Regions from separate parts of the Homo sapiens genome. Here regions 1 and 2 are each linked to region 3. The links are contacts of gene promoters, found by promoter capture Hi-C in human tissues and cell types (Jung and others, 2019). All regions are on one chromosome and are shown on one strand. Each heading gives the region's core, a stretch centred on a gene start or on the middle of the fragment in contact. The rest is flanking DNA. Distances are from core to core; before and after follow the strand shown.

Region 1 (2,500 bases), core at 1-2,500, 520 kb after region 3:
CCACTCCAGAGGATTCCGGATTGCCATAAATACTTCCTCTGGACTCTATTAAAGATAATCATGAGATGGTTGATGAGGTTCACACAGTAGCTTTCTTTAAAGGCTCACTTAATTTTGTGTTCAATAGTATGACAAGATAAGTAATCCTTTCAATTTGAGAGAAATTATTTTCAGTTGACTGCAGAAAACCACAGAACATTTTAGCTACTACAAATTAACTGGTGCAAGACAGTCAAGCATATAAATAAGAAGATGGTGGAAGATGAAATCACTTTTATTTACAATACAAAATAAATGACTGTCAATTTACATCCCGGTGACTTTTAACATGCTTATTAACTCTGATGCCTAGCATCCAAAGGGCACTAGAATCAATATTAGCTCCCGCTACTGGGCTGTTTTGAAGATGAAAATACCGAGGCAGATGCCCCATTTGCAATGCTCCATTTGCAAATATTCTTTTTTTGAGATGGAGTCTTACTCTGTCGCCCAGGCTGGAGTGCAGTGGCACCACCTTGGCTCACTGCAACCTCCTGGGTTCAAGAGATCTTCCCACCTCAGCCTCCCAGGTCGCTGGAGTTACAAACATGTGCCACCCTGGCTAATTTTTGTATTTTTAGTAGAGACAGGGTGTCACCATGTTGGCCAGGCTGGTCTCGAACTCCTAACCTCAAGTGATCCTCCCAACTCGGCCTCCCAGAGTGCTGGAATTACAAACATGCGCCATTGCACCCGGCCAATTTGCAAATATTCTTAACATATAAATAGCCAACAACTAGATATCGCTGACCACCACTGTCCCAAAACAGTTTTAGAAAAACGGCAATGAGAATTAGGACAGAGGGGTTCTAGTCCCAAAACAGATGTACAAGCATGGGCAAGTTACTTAACTTCTTAGTTCCTTTCTAATTTGCAAAATGGAGGTCTGATTAATAAACTCCATAAGACCTCTTACCTCTAAAATTTTGCTTCTATATTTTTCAGACCCATATCTGTTCCAGGTTCACACTACATCTGGTAGACTGAACTAATAATGTTTAGACCAAGTATCTTTTTACACTTAAAACCATAATCCTGTTCTTTGTACCCACAGTTCAGTTAATTTCACTTCAAGCAAATCTCACTGTATATACACATTCTTTTAAAAACATTCCCCTCTTTTCTCCTAGACCCTTCCCATTTTTATCCAAAGACAAAAGGGACGTAATTTCATACTATTTTATTCTCTCCTCTATTCTCTATGAACTAAAATCCAACCCCAATTAGATCTCCATTTTACAAATTAGAAAGGAACTAAGAAGTAATTTGCCCATGTTCATATATATATACACACACACATGCACACGTGCACACACACACACACACCCCATTAGCACCCCTCCTAACATTTATTAACCTTAATTGGAGTTGGATTTTACATATTTTATGTGTGTACACACACACACACACACACACACACTTTATATATATATATACACATACATTACATATATATGTGTGTATGTAATATATGTATACACACTTTTTTTTGGAGACAGGGTCTTGCTCTGTTGCCCAAGCTGGAGTGCAGTGGCGTGATCTCAGCTCACTGCAACCTCTGCCTCCCAGGCTCAAGCAATCCTCCTACCTCACCTCCCGAGTAGCTGGGATTGTAGGTGCATGCCACCATGCCTAGCTAATTTTTGCCTTTTTTGTAGAGATGGGGTTTTGCAAGTTGCCCAGGCTGTTCTCTAACTCCTGAGCTCAACTGATCCACCTGTCTTGGCCTCCCAAAGTGCTGGGACTACAGGTATGAGCCACCACTCCTGGCCACTAATGGTATATTTTAAAGTAAGATTAGACAGAATAAAAAAACTAGTAAAATTAAGTACCCAAAAGTTTCCTTTAGACTCTCCAACTTCCTTATCTACTATGAATTATACGTATTTTTCATTAAGTGGCATTATTAAGTAAAACTAAGATTACTTTTAGATTATTTCTTCACGTGTGAAATGGGGGGCAGAGAATGCTAACCTTTACCTTAAGGTTATGAAAATTAAAAATAAATGTATAGTGTTTAGCATACGGCCTGGCATGGTAGCTATTAATATTATTACCATGTATTGTTTATGCTCATTCTGTAAGGATGATCATGTATTATTTATCCTTATTCTGTAATTCTACTAGTATTAGGCCAGTACTGTTTTTTTTTTGTTTTTTTTTTTTTGCTATTTTTATGTAAAAAATATGCATTCAAGTTTACATAGTTCTTTATGAGCTGGTAAGGAAATATACTCACAATAAGTTACATTATACAAATTCCTACTTAAGTTATGGACTTCTTGTGATTTTAAAAGAATAGCAACAAGAAAAGATGGAAGAGTACTAAATTTGAGTAATCTAGGAACCTCAAGGCAAAGTTTGCTTACCTTGTCATTGAATATACGGAGACTATCTAAAGTATGCAGGTTTTGTTCAAGAAGTGCGGTACCTGCTGAATACAAGTTGACCTCATCAAGCT
Region 2 (2,700 bases), core at 44-2,543, 620 kb after region 3:
GAGAGACTGACTCTGTTTGTTTAGAGGAAAGTAAGGGAAGAGAAGAAGAGAACAAGAGTCTGTTTGATAACCCAGGGAATTCTCCAGGATCTTATGCAAGACCACCAAGGTGGTACCGCTATGAGTGTACAAGAGCCACAGCGTTATTGGGCTTGGAGTGTCCCCTAAAGCAGATATAGCTGCAGTGACCAAAGACTTAAGATAACAACACCCAAGTGCCTTCAAATACTTGGAAAGCCTTCCCCAGAAGGGTGGGTACAAACAAGCCCAGACTACAAAGACTACAAAAATACCTAACTCTTCAATGCCCAGGCACTAATGAACATCCATAAGCATCAAGACCATCCAGAAAAACATGACCCACCGAAGGAATTAAAGAAGGCACCAGTGATCAATCCTGGAGAGACAGCGATATGTGACCTCTCAGACCGAGGAGTCAAAATAGCTGTTTTGAGGAAGCTCAAGGAAATCCATGATAATGTGGAGAAGGAATTCGGAATCCTATCAGATAAATTTAACGAAGAGATTGAAACAATTACAAAGAACCAGAGAGAAATTCTGGAGACGAAAAATGCAGCTGACATACTGAAATATGCATCAAGAGTCTCTTAAAAGCAAAATTGATGAAGCAGAAGAATTAGCAAGCTTGAAGGCAGCCTATATGAAAATACACAGAGGAGACAAGAATAAAGAATGAAGCATGCTTACAAGATCTAGAAAACAGCCTCAAAAGAGCAAATTTAAGAGTTACTGGCCTTAAAGAGGAGGTAGAGGCGGAGGGTGCAGTGAGCAGAGGTTGCACCATTGCACTGCAGCCTGGGCGACAAGAGTGAACCTCCATCTCAAAAAAAAAAAAAAAAAAAAAAAAAAAGAGAACTTATGAAACCTAGGGAAAGATATTTATCAATATTCAAGTCCAGGAAGGTTACAGAACACCAAACAGATTTAAACCAAAGAAGATTAACTCAAGGTATTTAATAATCAGACTCCCAAAGGTCAAGGATAAAGAAAGGATCCTAAAAGCAGCAAGAGGAAAGAAACAAATAACATACAATGGAGCTCCAATATGTCTGGCCCCAGACTTCTCAGTGGAAACCTTAGAGGCCAGGAGAGAGTGGCATGACATATTTCAAGTGATAAAGAAAAAAAAAAAACTTTTACCTTAGAACAGTATCCAGTGAAAATATCCTTCATATATGGAGAAATAAAGACTTTCCTAGACAAACAAAAGCTGAGGGATTTTATCAATGCCAGACCTGTCCTAGAAGAAATGCTAAAGGGAGTTCTTCAATCAAAAGGAAAAGGACATTAACAAGCAATAAGAAATCTGAAGGTACAAAATTCACTGGTAACAGTAAATACACAAAATATTATAACACTGTAATTGTGGTATGAACTACTATCTTGAGAAGACTAAAAGATGAACCTTTTACAAATAACTACAGCTTTTCAAGATACAGACAGTATAATAAGGTATACATAAAAACAACAAAAAGTTAAAAAGTAGGGGGATAAAGTTAAAGTGTAGAGTTTTTATTAGTTTTCTTTTTGCTTCTTTGTTTGCTGCTTTATGCCATCAGTGTTAACTTGTCATCAGCTTAAAAGAATGGCTCATAAAATATTATTGGCAAGCCTCATGGTAACCTCAAATCAAAAACATACAACAGATGCACAAAAAATAAAAAGCAAGAAATTAACACATATCATCTGTGAAAATCACTTTTACTAAAGGGAAGGCAGGAAGGAAGAAAAGGAGGAAGAGAAGACCACAAAACCACCAGAAAACAAATAACAAAATAGCAGGAGTAAGTCCTCGTCAATAATAACACTGAATGTAAATGGACTAAATTCTCCAATCAAAAGACGTAAGAGTGATTGAATGGATTAAAAACAAACAAAAATAACCCATGACCCAACAATCTGTTGCCTACAAGAAACAGACATCATCTATAAGGAAAAACACAGACTGAAAATAAAGCAAAGAAAAAAGATATTCCATGGCTGGGCATGGTAGCTCATGCCTGTAATCTCAGCACTTTGGGAGACCGAGGCGGGTGGATTGCTTGAGGTCAGGAGTTTGGGACCAGCCTGACCAACGTGGTGAAACCCTGTCTCTACTAAAAATACAAAAATCAGCTGGGCATCGTGGCAGGCACCTGTAATCCCAGCTACTCAGGAGGCTGTGGCAGGAGAATCACTTGAACCCAGGAGGCAGAGGTTGCAGTGAGCCAAGATCACGCCACTACACTCCAACCTGTGTGACAGAGCAAGACTGTGTCTCAAAACAAACAAACACACAAACAAAATACACATGGCAAACAGGTACATGAAAAGGTGCTCAACATCACTGATTATCAGAGAAATGCAAATCAAAACTACAATGAGATATCACATCACCCTAAAGTTGCTTTTATCCAAAAGACGGGCAATAACAAATGGTGACAAGGAGAAAAGTGAGAAAAGGGAACCCTCATACACTATTGGCAGGAATGTAAATTAGTATAATACTATGGAGGACCATTTGGAGGTTCCTCAAAAAACTAAAAATAAAACTACTATATGATCCAGAAATCTCACTACTAGGTATATACTGAAACAAAAGGAAATCAGTATATTGAAGACATATCGGCACTCCCATGTTTGTTGCAGCACTATTCACAATAGCCTACATTTGGAAGCAACCTAAGTGTCTGTCCACAG
Region 3 (2,700 bases), core at 5-2,504:
GTCCCTTAAGTCCTGGGATGTTTAACATTCTTAATCTTATTTGGCACTTTAATTTTACGAAAGAGATATGTAGATTAGGGAGCAAAGAGGATAGTGGTAGTCTCCTTAACACAAGGCTATAAGGGTGGTCACCTGGGGTCATCACATCCCTGTATCTGATTCTCAATATTGCAGGTTATGAAAACACATCTAGCTAGTACACCTAGAGTTGCACTGTTAGAAACAGTAGCTCCAAGGCACATGTAGCAATTTAAATTTATTAGAATTATTCAATTTATTCACATTGGCCACATTTCAAGTGCTCAGTAGGTATATGGTTACTATATTGGACAGTACAGATAGTAGAACTTTCATTTCCACTTCCACCATTAAAGAACGTTCTATTGGACATTGCTGACCTAGAGGCAGTTAGCCTTGGGGATACTGACTCCTGTGTAGGAACATCTACATATAGAACAAAAATAATATCGAATATTGTGTGTCAGTTTTATGCTAAATTTTTTCAAATGCCTTTTGTGTTGTACAAACAACACAGTCTTTGAGGGGGATGAAGGAAGAGGGTCTCATGTCCTGATGTTGACGTGATTAGCACACCTTGAGCTGGTTTGTTATTAGAGGTTAGGCACTGTGGGGAAGGCAGGGAAGGCTGTCTTTCCAGTTGGGCTGTTCCCAGCTCAGGCCCTGCCTATCCCCAGAAGCCACCTTTCGAGGCAAAATGGGAAATAATTAGGTTGTCGGTATCAGGCGTTGAGCATGGAAATACAGGAATCCCGAATGTTCAGGATTATTATGAGTAAGCGTCGTGGCCTGTATTCTGTGTCCACTGCATATTGCAGTTTGTGTCTTAATCATCTATCTTGGTTTCTAATGGATTAACTTCAAAGACGATCATTAGCTCAAGGTGGAGGTCACTGGGTTGCTCATGTGTCTTACCCACGCGGGGTTTTGAAGCTGGAGCACACCCCGAGTGGCCGAGTAGGGTACGCTTGGCGTTTCACACGCAGCTAGTCGTGCAGCCTTAGGATATGCACCGAGAGGAGTTTCCAAAATCCGTCTCCGAGATTGTTTCAGATTTCGCGCTGGGAGGGAGGGGCGGGCTCCGCGAGGCCGCGCGCCCCGCCCCCTGCGCCGCCCCGCCCCCGCTTGCTCGTGACACCCCCGCGCCCCGCCCTCTTGGCCGGTACCCACCCCCTCCCCAGGCTGATTGGCGCTTCTGCGGCGGATCCTCGGGCGGGCAGCCGGGCCGGCGCGTCACGTGGCCCACGGCGTCCAGGGCGACCAGCCGCGGGCCGCAGGGCATGGACCTTCAGGCCGCCGGGGCCCAGGCGCAGGGGGCCGCGGAGCCGTCTCGGGGCCCGCCGCTGCCTAGCGCGCGGGGGGCGCCCCCCAGCCCGGAGGTGAGCGCCGCGTGGGGGCCAGGAGCAACAGCCAGCCGCAGCCTGGGGCGGGAAGTCGCGGGGCCGGGCTGGGCGGGGGCCGCGGGGCCGGGGAAGCGCCTCTGGCCGGCCTCGGGCCGCCCCGCGACACGGAGCGCTGTTTGGGCTCGCGCTCGAGCTGAAAACGGCCAGGCCGCGGGGCCGCGGGGCTGCGGGGCGGGGAAAGCCGAGGGCGTGGGTGGGCGCTCTGGGTCAGCAGAGACGGCTGTCCGCCCGCTGGGCGCCGCTGCGGATTTGGTAAATGGGAGGTGACGCTGGTGACCGAGAGCCGGGGCCCGCTGCCAGGAGCCTGGGCGAGGGCCAGGTGAGGGCGGCGAGGAGAGGGACTTGACTTTACAGACCTGTGGACCTCTGTCCGTTGGTGGGGATGCCAGCTAACCCTGAGCCCCAGATGTCACATGCGCGCTCCCCCTTCTCCTTACTGAAACCAGAAAGGCCCTGTTTGACGCAGGGTTTCCAGAAACTTGTTTTCATGTAAGCTAGACAGCTCCTGGTTTTCCCGAGAACGTTACAGACCGTTATTACAGTTCTTACCTGTCCTTGTTTACAGTCTGTACCGGCTAGGTGCTGAGCGGCTTGAAGGTAGGAACCCTCTGTTAGGGCTGTTTGCACAGCCTAGCATAGTGCCTGGCACAGGAGATAGACATACCGACTGGATGAATGATGCCTCAAAGATGGTACTTAGCCAAAGTAAGATATGAAAAATGCAGCGACACTTACAAAGAAAATTACTTTGGAGTGCAGAATAGAATGGGACTAATTTTGTCAGGGCATAGCAGGAAAGGATCAAGGTGAGAGGCTGGTGGTGTCTGCAGAGGCGTGGAGATGAGAAAGTGCAGGGCACATGGCCTGGAGTTGGGTCTCAGAGCATGCAGAGAACTATGCTCAACAGGTTGATGGGAGTGGGAGAAGAGGGGACGTGCGAATGCCATGGCTAATTTTGTGCTCTCTCAGTGGAGGGCTGTTGAAGGTTTTGAGCAGAGTAGTGATTAATTCTGTAAGGCTGGGCCAGATGGCTGGATGGGAAGGTGGTTAGGAGGCCGTGGCAGTGGTTTAGGTGAGAGGTCTGACTTCTCCTTGGGCGGCAGTGACCAGAGGTTGTCACTAACTACAGGGAGTGGAACTGAATTATTAAACCCAGACATGACTAGATAATGAATGCTGATTGGAGCAGGTGCCGAGTACAGTTTAGATGTAGCAGAAAAGATGAATTTAAATTCAAGAAATGTTACATTCTTGCCACATGCCAGGTGTTTTCATAAAT

What was found. Contacts are between HindIII fragments. The study calls those that stand out against the background at their distance.
Region 1: a contact is called between a fragment that was not itself captured here and the fragment with the promoter of COPRS in region 3, in 1 of the 25 tissues and cell types used here (dorsolateral prefrontal cortex).
Region 2: a contact is called between a fragment that was not itself captured here and the fragment with the promoter of COPRS in region 3, in 1 of the 25 tissues and cell types used here (lymphoblastoid cells).

The regions. Positions count from the first base shown.
Region 1 is chr17:31,340,554-31,343,053 of GRCh38, reverse strand. It overlaps NF1 (neurofibromin 1), which reads right to left. Exons shown (of 58, transcript NM_001042492.3): 47 at 2,409-2,500; 48 at 1-45. Among named protein-coding and RNA genes, the nearest start is that of EVI2A, 20 kb to the right of the region's middle. The HindIII fragment of the contact is 6,090 bases long and covers 1-2,500 here.
Region 2 is chr17:31,240,477-31,243,176 of GRCh38, reverse strand. All of the region lies in intron 29 of NF1 (neurofibromin 1), which reads right to left. Among named protein-coding and RNA genes, the nearest start is that of OMG, 55 kb to the left of the region's middle. The HindIII fragment of the contact is 8,880 bases long and covers 1-2,700 here.
Region 3 is chr17:31,857,798-31,860,497 of GRCh38, reverse strand. It overlaps COPRS (coordinator of PRMT5 and differentiation stimulator), which reads left to right and starts at 1,254. Exons shown (of 4, transcript NM_018405.4): 1 at 1,254-1,397. The coding sequence starts at 1,299. RefSeq lists a silencer at 1,104-1,533 and an enhancer at 1,593-2,267. The HindIII fragment of the contact is 7,860 bases long and covers 1-2,700 here.